Linked DNA regions of Homo sapiens: regions 2, 3 and 4 are each linked to region 1. Evidence: promoter capture Hi-C in human tissues and cell types (Jung and others, 2019). All regions are on one chromosome and are shown on one strand. The core of a region is centred on a gene start or on the middle of the fragment in contact, and the rest is flanking DNA. Distances in the headings are between cores, read along the strand shown. Region 1 holds the start of DOCK8 (dedicator of cytokinesis 8). Region 2 holds the start of DMRT1 (doublesex and mab-3 related transcription factor 1). Region 3 overlaps LOC105375949 (a long non-coding RNA gene). Region 4 has its middle 51 kb from the start of DMRT1.

Evidence for each region. Contacts are between HindIII fragments. The study calls those that stand out against the background at their distance.
Region 2: the fragment with the promoter of DMRT1 here is called in contact with the fragment with the promoter of DOCK8 in region 1 in 4 of the 25 tissues and cell types used here (H1 embryonic stem cells, IMR-90 fibroblasts, dorsolateral prefrontal cortex and 1 more).
Region 3: a fragment that was not itself captured here is called in contact with the fragment with the promoter of DOCK8 in region 1 in 1 of the 25 tissues and cell types used here (mesenchymal stem cells).
Region 4: a contact is called between a fragment that was not itself captured here and the fragment with the promoter of DOCK8 in region 1, in 2 of the 25 tissues and cell types used here (dorsolateral prefrontal cortex and thymus).

The regions. Positions count from the first base shown.
Region 1 is chr9:213,117-216,114 of GRCh38, forward strand. DOCK8 (dedicator of cytokinesis 8) reads left to right here and starts at 1,749. Exons shown (of 48, transcript NM_203447.4): 1 at 1,749-1,913. The coding sequence starts at 1,861. It overlaps DOCK8-AS1 (DOCK8 antisense RNA 1), which reads right to left and starts at 2,634. Exons shown (of 1, transcript NR_160804.1): 1 at 341-2,634. RefSeq lists silencers at 1,504-1,753, 1,764-1,813, 1,864-1,913, 2,084-2,223. The HindIII fragment of the contact is 11,669 bases long and covers 1-2,998 here.
Region 2 is chr9:839,949-842,946 of GRCh38, forward strand. DMRT1 (doublesex and mab-3 related transcription factor 1) reads left to right here and starts at 1,749. Exons shown (of 5, transcript NM_021951.3): 1 at 1,749-2,244. The coding sequence starts at 1,891. The HindIII fragment of the contact is 5,420 bases long and covers 1-2,998 here.
Region 3 is chr9:806,162-809,159 of GRCh38, forward strand. The region is part of intron 1 of LOC105375949 (a long non-coding RNA gene); the gene reads right to left. Among named protein-coding and RNA genes, the nearest start is that of DMRT1, 34 kb to the right of the region's middle. The HindIII fragment of the contact is 3,829 bases long and covers 1-2,998 here.
Region 4 is chr9:789,569-792,566 of GRCh38, forward strand. No RefSeq gene overlaps it. Among named protein-coding and RNA genes, the nearest start is that of DMRT1, 51 kb to the right of the region's middle. The HindIII fragment of the contact is 5,334 bases long and covers 1-2,998 here.

The DNA.
Region 1 (2,998 bases), core at 499-2,998:
AAAAAGCTTTATTTTTCTTTGGGTTTGTTTTCGTATGTAGTCTATTGTAGTCTATGCAGTGAACTTTGTCTTATATGCTTAAAAGGGCACTGATATTTGGTGGGCATTGGGGGGCGGGGAGTTACCTAACCAGTACTGAAAAGTTACTAAACTACCTGACACAGCTGAAACCAGGAAGGAAGGCTGTATCAGGAAGAGACTGAATATAGTCCTTAGGTGGATTTTAGTATTAGGTGACAAATTAGGTTGTATTGGACTGGCACTGTCCAATAGGAATATAATGAGGCTCACAAATGTGAGCCACATGTGTAATTTTACATTTTTAAAAATGCAAACCACATTTTTAAAAGGGGAAAACAAACAGGTGAAATTAACTTTAATAATATATTTTTTATATCCAAAGTATCATTTAACATGCAATCAACATGAAAATCATTAACAAGACATTTTACACGATGTTTTCTGCGCTGTCTTTAAATTCCAGTGTACATTTTACACATCCAGCAGTGGGCAATTCAGACTAACCATAATGCCGAGTGGTCAATAGCCACATGTGGCTAGTGGCTATCATATTAAATAGTGCAGGTTTGAACCAAAAATACTTCGCTTTGGTTGTTTTTTTTTTTTTCTTTTAGACGGAGACTTGCTCTGTCGCCAGGCTGGAGTGCAGTGGCAGATCTCGGTTCACTGCAAGCTCCGCCTCCCGGGTTCAAGTGATTCCCCTGCCTCAGCCTCCCAAGTAGCTGGGACTAAGGCGTGCGCCACCACGCCCGGCTAATTTTTTGTATTTTAGTAGAGACGGGGTTTCACCACGTTGGCCAGGATGGTCTCGATCTCCTGACCTCGTGATGCGCCCGCCTCGGCCTCCCAAAGTGCTGGGATCACAGGCGTGAGCCACCGCGCCCGGCCTGCTTTGGTATTTTTTAAGAGCAAGTTGGTAAATGGAGGCATTATATGGAGAGTGCTCGAGTATATATAGCACAGGTTAGAGCAGCACGCCGGCACCTTGAAGCGAACACGGGCTCCTCCACTCCCGTCAACACTGGGACTTTTCTGTTTTTATCTTGAGTTTGAGGCCGGGCTTCTTAGCAGACCTCAGTCTGAAACTGAAATAAACCTGGACGCAGCGTACCCTTGAATCGCAAGAACGCCGCCTTCAGTGTTTCTCCGGAGAAAAGCATTCACGCCAGGTTGTGACGAAAACATTTTTTGAGAACTCATAATGTTTATTCCTTGGATGAATCCATTATATTTATTTAGTGTCTCAGGAAGGATGATGGGCATATTGCTTGCAAAAGTTGATTTGAATCCTGATAGATTCCACTAACTTTTTTGTCTTTTTTTTTGGCTGCCTTCTTCGAGAATGGTGTCAACCCTTAATAACACCTAGCCTTACGAATCCCTGGGGTGATTCCCGACCTCGCCAGCTTTGTGGGGCTCCCCCGACTTGCCTACATTCCCTGGCAGCCTCGCAGCTTCGGGCAGATGGAGCTTCCGGCCTGCGCGCAGTGGTCGCCTGTCGTCCGCCCGCGCTCCCTTCGGCCGGAGGTCGGCGGCCCCGGGCAGAGCGCGCCGTCTGCCCCAGTATCGGGAGGCCAGTTCCGCGCTGGGCCCACGCCCTCCTCGCCCGCCGCTGCCTGCGCGCCAGGCCGGGTGGCGGAGCCGGCCGTCGCTGCTCCGAGCTCGGACCCTCCCCCGGGGTGATTTCGGCTTAGAAGGTGGAAATGCGGAAGTTTCCAGCGCCGACCGACAGACGAGGTTTGCGCTTGGCTGGGCATGTTCCGCGGCTACTCTGCGGCGCGCCAGGCCCCCGCTTTCCGCACCCCGCGACCCTAGAAGCCACCGAACCGCCGGCGGGCCATGGCCACTCTGCCGAGCGCAGAGCGCCGCGCGTTCGCGCTCAAGATCAACAGGTAAGACGCCCCCCGCGGCGCGCAGGTTGCGGCCGGACAGCCCAGCGCTGGTGTGAAGCGGAGCTTCGCTGCAGGGGCCGAGGCCGGACGAGTCCATTCGCGTCCGCGGCGGGGCGCGCCTGAGACCTGGGGCGCCCGGTTCCCGAGGCTGCGGCGGTGGAGCCGCTGGACGCGCGGCGGCTCCTGCGCTGGGCCCGGCGAGGTCCTCCCCAAGAATCTCGGTGCTCCTGGATGTCCTCAGCCGCCGGGGATCCCTTCCCCGAACAACCTCGCCCGCTCCGCCCTCCAGGTTCTTACAGGTGGCCGGGTCCCAGAAGGGTGATAGGCGCCTGGGTAACCGTGTTGGGCGCGCCACGGAGTGTCTCATAAACGGCTCCTTCCTTTGAGGCAAGTCTGAGCGCGGGGGGAAGAAGTGAAGTGGCTGAAATTAGAGTTGCGTTTGAGGCAGGCTGCAAGCCTTCTGTCGTCCTGAGCAAGGCTCCGTCCTCGCCTGCTTCATTATTCCAGAAAGAGCTTGGCTCCTGGTGGCATCGCTATTTTTATACCCTGGTCCAAAGGAGCCATGAAGTGGAAAAAGTGATTTTTTAAAAAATCTACACTTAAATAAACCAAAAGAAATGGCCTGTGGCTGACATTTTGAGATTTACAGAACTCCAGCAAAAAGCTAAGGACTGGGGGATCCCAACTCACCATCCAATTCCTAATCAAAGTTGCACAAACTAAATATGTAAGCACATTTACTGCTCAAAGTTCTCAGTAAAGGTGCTTTAACTGCAGTTTTTCCTCCACTAAAAACTGCTGACAAGTAATTGGGACATTTTTGTCTTGCCCTGAGAAAGCTAGACTGTCTAGTTAAAAGATAATAGGAAACTCATTCTAAAGTGTCAACTTATTCTATTGCCCACAGGGCTGTCCGATTTGTTAATCTTCACTTAGCTGAGCCTGTGAAAGGTGGATTCCACCGTAGGTTCATCTTTGTGCTGTTAGTGTGTGAAGAGGTTTGAACAAGGAATTAAAAGCCTAGAAAAACAAGGCGATAAGGTCTTCTAGAGGGCATATCGAGCTTTATTGACGATTTTATTTCC
Region 2 (2,998 bases), core at 499-2,998, 630 kb after region 1:
CAATTGACATGCGTGTTTTAATGGAAGATTGTTTTAATGGAAGATTTAAGTGGTTATCATTTATAAGTTTCCAGGATGGAATAGATTGTTGCATCCTAGCTCCTGTCAGGAGTAGAGCTTCACTGGTTTCACAGGTAGGGTATGAGGTGCTGTGTAAAGCTAGAAGCTTCTTTTGGAAGTAATTTTCAGACAGAGAATACTAATGGAGAAATTTCAGACTGAGGGAAAGGGCCTGTGAGAGAGGCCTCAGAATTAGAGCTCCAAAGGCAGATTCGAGGATTTCAGAACTCAGTGCTGAAAACACCAAACTGCTGAAAGAGGTGGCCACAGTACAACCATTTTGATGAGAAGTTGAACAGGGTGACCATGCCTCTTTGGAGAAATAATCCCCTAGGTCTGGAGGCGGCCCAGGATCCTGAAGGTGAGTACCAGTGCTGGTGGAAAATAAGGAGCATTCAAAGTGCATTAAGAGCCACTCCGGGGTCTTTAACTTGTTAACATGGAAAACAATAGCAAAGTACTGCTGGGGCCCCCTGCTGTGTGTATAGAATATACCGGAAGACTAAGACATGGAGATAGCAGCTGGGAGCTACCGCAGAGATTCAGACTTGAGGTGAAGGGCTGGCCTTAGGGGGGCACGTGGGTGTGTAGGAAGAACTGCTCAGCAGGCCTTAGGGATACATTTGTTGTGCAGGTGCAGAGAGGACACAGGCATGGCTGGGGCGGGAGTTCAGGATGAGAACCCTGGGACAGGCTGTAAGATGATCGAGCCAGGGGTGTGTGTGTGTGTGTGTGTGTGTGTGTGTGTGTGTGTGTGTGTAGAGGTATAATGACATACTGTAAAATGCAAGATATGAAGTGTAGAATGAGTTTTGATACATTTCTACATCTGTGTAACCACCCCCCACAACCTCAGTTTTTTTTAATACATATGTTTCTTTTTAAGTTTGAGTTTCCCGTGCCTGCAGAGTCTAAGTTTAAACAGCCTCACAGACAAGAAGCTATATGCACCTGAAGTGAACGGGAACACGGGCTGCAACAGTAGATCGTAAAGTTATTTGGAGCGAAGGAGGTAGAAGTGTTGTGAGCAAATGAAGACAGGTGCAGGAAGGGATAAACGGAGAACAGAAAGTTCCAACCTTTGAGATTTTTGAAGTGCTTGTGCCCCAACACTGAGGATCTTCTTTGCCGTATATAGGGCAACTCTGATTTACCCTATAAATTTCTCAGGCCTTCCACCTCATATTTAATTCTCTTAAGCGAGAAAAAAAATTTTTTTCTGACTTGGCTGCTGCCAAGGTCGGCTCTATCAAATCTGGTGCGTCTCTCTGGGGGAAAGGGAGCTAGAAGACCCCATAGGGTGGTTTGCACCTCCTCTAAGCATGCAAGCACGGCTCTGGTCTTGACCTGGGGAGCCCAGCTTCCTCGGTGCACCGTGCTTTGGCAACCGGGTCTTGGCGCCTCCGAGAGCGGGGCGAGGGGTGCCACGCGATTCCCAGGCCGCTCTGTATCTCTCGGTGCGCTTGCAGGGACCCTGCAGCAAAGCCCTGGATGCTTGCAGCCGGTGCAAGTTTGCAAGCAGCTGGAGAGCGGTGGCTGGAGTCGGGGGGCGGTGGGCGTGGCCACGCTCCCTCCCAGGCAGTCCCGGGAATGTTCTGAAAAGTATCCGAAAGTTCTGAGTCGCGCGCGCGCCAAAAGAAAAGGCACAACCCCCCACCACTCCGGGCGTGGCGTGCCCAGACCTCGCCACTCCAGCTGCGCCTCCGGCTGCAGCGCACACGTCTCCTGCGCCTCCTCCTCCGGAGCGTCGCTGTCCGTCGGGTTCATCCCTCGCAGCAGTCTCCAGGCGAGAGAGGGGGCCAGAGTGCTCGCACTTCTCCTAGGGGCACCATGCCCAACGACGAGGCATTCAGCAAGCCCTCTACACCGTCGGAAGCCCCTCACGCCCCCGGGGTACCGCCGCAGGGCAGAGCCGGGGGCTTTGGCAAAGCGTCTGGGGCGCTAGTGGGGGCGGCCAGCGGCTCGAGCGCCGGGGGCAGCAGCAGAGGAGGCGGCTCCGGCTCCGGGGCGTCGGACCTGGGTGCCGGGAGCAAGAAGTCCCCGCGGCTGCCCAAGTGCGCACGCTGCAGGAACCACGGCTACGCCTCGCCGCTCAAGGGCCACAAGCGCTTCTGCATGTGGCGCGACTGCCAGTGCAAGAAGTGCAACCTGATCGCCGAGAGGCAGCGCGTGATGGCCGCGCAGGTGGGTGCGGGCGTGCGGGAGCCCGGGTTCAGCCTTAGTTTTTTTTTTTTTTTTTTTTTTTAGATGGAGTCTCGCTCGGTTGCCCAGGCTGCAGTGTAGTGGCGCGATCTTGGCTCACTGCAACCTCCGCTTCCCGGGTTCAAGCAATTCTCCTGCCTCAGCCTCCCAAGTAGCTGGGACTACAGGCGCACACCACCATGCCCGGCTAATTTTTGTATTTTTAGTAGAGACGGGGGTTTCACCATATTGGTCAGGCCGGTCTCGAGCTCCTGACCTCAGGTGATCCACCCGCCTCGGCCTCCCAAAGTGCTGGGATTACAGGCGTGGGCCACCGCTCCCGGCGGGGCCCGAGTTTCTTGAATGAAGTCCCCCCAGCATGGCCGTTGCCATGCGGGTCCTGGGTTGTGGAGAGATGCGGCGGTACTTGCCGACAGCGGCGGCGCTTGGGGTCCTGGGCTCCCGGCCACGCTACATCGCCGGTCTGGGAGCGCCGGAGACGCGTCTGATCCCGCCCGCCGGGCAGAGTTGCGGGCTTCGCTCGGCTCGGGGTTCCCCACGATCTCTCACCCTGTGTTTCGGCGGAGTTGCGGGGGTTCCCTCTGCTCCCGGGTCCCTGAGATCCCTGATCCCGCTCTCAGGGCAGGGAATTCCGGGGTTCGCCCCTCTGGGCTTCCCCGCGATCCCAGAGCCCGCGTTCCAACAGAATTGGGAGGGTTTATTGCGCTAGAGGAGTCTTCAGGATCTTCGCTCCCGC
Region 3 (2,998 bases), core at 221-2,720, 590 kb after region 1:
CTGGCTAACATGGTGAAACCCCATTTCTACTAAACATACAAAAAAATTAGCCAGGCATGGTGGCACATGCCTGTAATCCCAGCTACTCGGGAGGCTGAGGCTGGAGAATCACTTGAACCTGGGAGGCAGAGGTTGCAGTGAGCCGAGATTGCCCCATTGCACTCTGGCTTGAGGAACAAGAGTGAAACTCCATCACAAAAAAAAAAAAAAAAAGAGGTGAAGAGGTGGCCTTAGCACCTCGGGCATAGTGGCTCATGGCTGTAAATTACCCAGTCTGTGATATTTCGTTACAGCAGCACACATGGACTAAGACAATGGGCTCATACTTGCAAAGCAGTCAACCTTCTTTCTGGAGAGGTGCTTAGTTATTATATCAATTGTAAATAGTTTGCTTTGATCTAAAGGCAAATCTAATTGCATTAAATAAAGATCATATAAAACTGCTAACAACAGTGTTGGTGAAATGGGCAGCTTAAGGAAGGGAAGAAGAAAAAAAGAAATTCACCAAATCCAAAACAAAAAAAAACCCAAAAACCAAAACAAAAAAACGACAAATGGAACTCCAAATGAATGGGGTATTTATGCCACCTACTGGATTCTTGTTGCACTGCTTAGTTGTGCCCTAATTTCCAGGGTTCTTTCTTGTCCTCTGACAATCCACAAATCTACCAGTCTTTTTAATACCCAACTGGACTTCCTTCCTTCCTTAAAGTTCCAGAACTGTTAATTGATGTGTACTGGGCACATCTGCAAATCAACTCATTCTGCAAGTCCTTGCTCAAGGCTCCTCCTCTGCAAAACCCTACCTGACCCACTGAGGTGCAGGATCAACCCCTCCTTCGGCCAAGTCTTTCTCCTCAGTTGCCAGCTCACCTAACCTTGTGTCGTGAGGGCTGGTGTGTCTGTCTCCCGCTTAGCGTGTAAGTACCTAAGGGCACATTGCTTCTTCCTACCTGCTTTGTACCTGGAGTGTCATAAGGATGGTGTTAATTCAGTCAGACCTTGTTCAAGTGCTACAATTAATTCTATCCTCACAATCCTATGAGTAGAGATTATCATGCCTGTTTCACAGATAAGGAAACCAAGGCACAGAAGGGTTAAGGAACTTCACCAAAGTCACCAAGGTAGAAATGGCAGGGCAGTCTTCAGGCCAGGCAGTCCAGCTCCCTGTGTCCTTCGTTGCTATGCTCCCAGCCACTTGATGAAAACTGAGGTATCCTCTGTGTTTCATTTATGAAACTGGCCCTGTGTTCACCTGTCACAGACGGCCACCATCCTAGGCTGTAGCGCTGCCCTCCAGGTCCCCTGTGCCCTCTTCTCCACTCTGCTCTGTGTCCCAAAATCTGGCCTCTATGGACTGCATCAACAGGCCCCTTGTCCTCTAGCTTTAGTTTGCGTGTGGTCATAAAAGGTACCCTTAAAAGTAGGAGGGTAGGACAAGGGCAAGGAAGGAGTCTTTCTTTCCCTGGTTTTCTCCCTGCTGGGTGACCAGAGGTTGGCTGCAGGTCTCTGCTGAAGCCAAGGCCTCTGCCAGATGGCATTCTCCAAAGCTTCAGCCCCTTTCTTGGGTTCCTAGGACTATTCCTTGTCCCTTCAGGTGTCGGATGGTGGTGGCTCCCTTTGTTGCCATCCCCAGGGAGGCCTGTTGCTATCCCATGTTGGTTTCCCTTAACCTTCCTCAAACTTCTGTAAATTATCTCTTTATTAAATTCTCCTCCATTCCCCACCTAAGGGTACCACCCTCCTCCTGTCAGTAGCCTAACTCACATAGCCTCCAAATACTTTACCCACCTGCTGAAATTCCTCCCCCCTGCTCAAATCCCACCACTCAGTTTTTGGGAGTTACAGATATCCTTTGCTGAAAGGCAAATGCTAGGAATCCCAAGCCAATAATAACTATTTATCAGATTGCTTTCCAACCCTGATTCAGGAGGAATAAGTTTTATACTGGGTAATAGGAACAAGGGAGCAGGCCAGGAGTGGAAGAGAAGGGGAATGAGAGGTGAGATGGCCCCAAGGACAAAATTCGCATAGATACTAAGAACACTTCCAGAGGATGCTATCCTCTGCAGTGGCTGCAGCCTGGGAGCTGTGTGGGGAACAGAGATGAGTACGATTCACAGCTCTGCTACTTAAAAGTTGACAGCTGTTAACTTCTCAGAGCCTCTCTTAATTTATAAAAGGTGAACAACAGTAGTATATGCTTCATAGGGTTGTTCTGAGGATTAAACAAATAATGCAGGCAAAATGCTTACTGCAGTGACCATCCAAGCCAACATGGTGAAACCCTGTCTCTACTAAAAATACAAAAAAATTAGCTGGGCGTGGGCGTGGTGGCTTGTGCCTGTCGTCCCAGCTACTAGGGAGTCTGAGACAGAAGAATCGCTTGAACCGGGGAGCAGAGGTTGCAGTGAGCTGAGATTGTGCCACTGCACTCCAGCCTGGTGACAGAGAGATTCCGTCTCAAAAACAAACAAACAAACAAAATAACCATCACAATGACCATTTAGTTCCCATTTAGTACAATCCTTTACAGGTTATAAGATAATGCTGCTCTGCAACGTGTGTGTGTGTGTGTGTGTGTGTGTGTGTGTGGTGTGTGTGTGTGGTGTGTGTGGTGTGTGTGGTGTGTGTGTGTGGTGTGTGTGGTGTGTGTGTGTGGTGTGTGTGTGTGGTGTGTGTGGTGTGTGTGTGTGGTGTGTGGTGTGTGTGTGTCTGGTGTGTGTGGTGTGTGTGGTGTGTGTGTGTGGTGTGTGTGTGTGGTGTGTGTGGTGTGTGTGTGTGGTGTGTGCGGTGTGTGGTGTGTGTGTGTGTGGTGTGTGCGGTGTGTGGTGTATGTGTGGTGTGTGTGTGTGTGTGTGGTGTGTGGTGTGTGTGGTGTGTGTGTGGTGTGTGGTGTGTGTGTGTGGTGTGTGTGTGGTGTGTGTGTGGTGTGTGTGTGGTGTGTGTGTGGTATGTGTGTGGTGTGTGGTGTGTGTGTGTGTGTGTTTTCTTTGTT
Region 4 (2,998 bases), core at 1-2,500, 580 kb after region 1:
TGCACTTCAGCCTCGGCAACAGAGTGAGACCTTGGCCAAAAAAAAAAAAAAAAAAAAAAAAAAAAAAAAAAAAAAAAAAAAAAAAAAAAGTCACAGGGAAAGCCTGTCAGTGCTGCTGCTGCTGCAGCAACATTTCTGAGTTCAGTAATTAATGCATGTTAAGATCCTCCTCAATCTGTTCACATGCCTGACAATCTAATGAAGTATCAGCTATAGCCCATTTGTCAAAACCCTAAAGTCTTGTTCTCTTAATCTCCTTCATGCTAAAATTTCCCACTAAAGAAAGCAAGAGGCTTTAGCTGAAAGCAGGGCATAAGGCCCACTCAATGCAGTGTGGTCTCTGCTAAATGACTATTGGTTTGCGAGGACTACTGTAACAAAATTACTACAAACTGGGTGACTTAAAACAATATAAATTGTCTCACAGCTCTGGAGGCTGGAAGTCCAAAATCAAGGTGCTGGCAGCACTAAGCTCTCTTTGAAGAATATAAGAGAGCCCTTGTCTCCACTCACTTCCAGTGGTGGCTAGCAACCCTGGCATTCCTTGGTGTGTAGATACATCACTGCAAACTCTACCTGTCTTCATCCGGTCCTCTTCCCTCTGTGTCTGGGTCTTCACATGGTGTTGTCCCCTGTGTGTCTGTGTCCACATTCTCCCTCTTCATATAAGGATACCAGGAATTGAATTAGCCCCCTCTAATCCAGTATGACATCAATTTGTTTTTTTTGGCTTTTTTGGACAGGATCTCTGTCACCCAGGCTAGAGTGCAGTGGGTCATGGCTCACTGCAGCCTTGACCTCCAGGGCTCAAGCAATCCTCCCACCTCAGCCCCTTGAATAGCTGAGTCTACAGGGGCACGCCACCACATCAGGATAATTTTTGTATTTTTGGTAGGGAGGAGTTTTGCCATGTTGCCCAGGCTGGTCTCCAACTCCTAGGCTCAAGCAATCTGCCCGCCTCAGCCTCCCAAAGTGCTGGGATTATAGGCATGAGCCACTGTGCCCAGCCTGACCTCACTTTAAATTGACTAATTACATCTACAAAGATCCTATTTCCAAATGAGATCACATTCTGAGGTTGCAGGTGAACATGAATTTGGGGGTGGGGGGTGATATGACAATTGTCAACCCAGGACAGTGACTAAATCTTCCTGTGTGAGAGCTGGGGGCATGCTCCAAAGTGGCTGATTAGCTTACTCTCCTGAGGATACACTTACCTTAGCCCCTGGTCTGCTCCCAGCTAATGATAGTTGAGCACTTACTCTGGGCCAGGCCGTACCTAATTTTACACGCAGTAGCTCATTATATTACCACAAAAATCTTAAGAGGCTCTCACCATCCTCATTTTAAAAAAGAGGACACTAAAGGCTCTGAGATGTTAAATGAACTACAGAGGCCCCCATAGGTGAACCAAACTACCTCTGTGCCCATGTTCTTAACCCACATGCTCTGCTGCGTATGGTGGGAAACTACGGTATCAGAGCATTTAGGTCTGAACCAAGTGTGCTTCTTTTCTGCTTATTTTGCTTTTTGTAGTTTTAGGAAATGTAAAACTAAAATATGTAGGGGAAATACTACATCAATGTTCACATTTTTACATTTATTTTTTGAGACGGAGTCTCACTCCGTCGCCCAGGCTGGAGTGCAACGGCGCGATCTTGGCTCACTGCAACCTCTGCCTCCCAGGTTCGGTTTCAAGCTATTCTCCTGCCTCAGCCTCCCAAGTAGCTGGGACTACAGGTGCACACCTCCACGCCCAGCTAGTTTTTGTATTTTTAGTAGACAGGGGTCTCACCACATTGGCCAGGCTAGTCTTGAACTCCTGACATCAAATGATCCACCCGCCTCGGCCTCCCAAAGTGCTGGGATTACAGGTGTGAGCCACTGCGCCCGGCCAATGTTCACATTTTTAAAATAAAACAAAAATATTTGAAAGGAAATTACCCAGGATAATTACAACTGTGTAGCAATGAGAAAGGAAAAGGCTACCTATGAGAAACAGTACAAATCTCTTTAAATTAGTCACACACAGCAAATTTAAACCAAAGACCCCAGGTAAGATACCTTCATGTCATGATTTGGGTTTCTTCCCTGAATCCATGAGCACCACGTAAGGAAGGTGCGGCCTCTACTTTCTTTCTCCTTGATTGAGAGAGCAGCTGCTGGTTTCCAGGTTCAGGAGTAGGCTGGAGGAAACAATCCTTCTGGCACAACCACGATCCTTCCCGAGACCGTGCCTGAGATGCCTCTTCCACGGGGTGCCTCCCTCCTGGCCGTACCCTGTGAGGCTGCTCTACCCGTCTCCAGAGGAAAGAACAGGCACAATTTTTTTGAGATTGAGTCTCGCTCTGTCGCCCAGCCTGGAATGCAGTGGCGCAATCTCGGCTCACAGCAACCTCCGCCTCCCAGGTTCAAGTGATTCTCCTGCTTCAGCCTCCTGAGTAGCTGGGATTACAGGTGTGTGCCACCACGCCCGGCTAATTTTTGTATTTTTAGTAGAGACGGGGTTTCACCACGTTGGCCAGGATGGTCTCGATCTTCTGACCTCATGATCCACCCACCTCGGCTTCCCAAAGTGCTGGGATCACAGGTGTGAGCCACCGCACCGGCCGACCAGAACAGGCGGATATTTCAAAGGAGCCACATCCCCCAACATCACCTCTCCCACCTGCGAGGTGAGTGATAGCTTCCCACCACACTCTAGTGACATCAGCACCGCAGCCCTGGGGCCACCCAAACTCACTTGTTCATTCCACAATAGTCACTGCATTGTGAGCCTGTTAGACACTGGAGAAGGAAGGCATGGAGCCGCCAGGGTGAACAAGATGGACCAGTCCCTCCCCCATGGAGCTTCTGTTCCGCCAGGGAAATAAACATAAACACGAGCTCATTTCAGAGTGCTAAGTACTGAGAAGCTGCCGATGCAGGGCACTGTGACCCACGGCGACCTCTGGGTGCACAACGTGAGCTGTGTGCTCAAAGCAGACCCTCTTTAAGG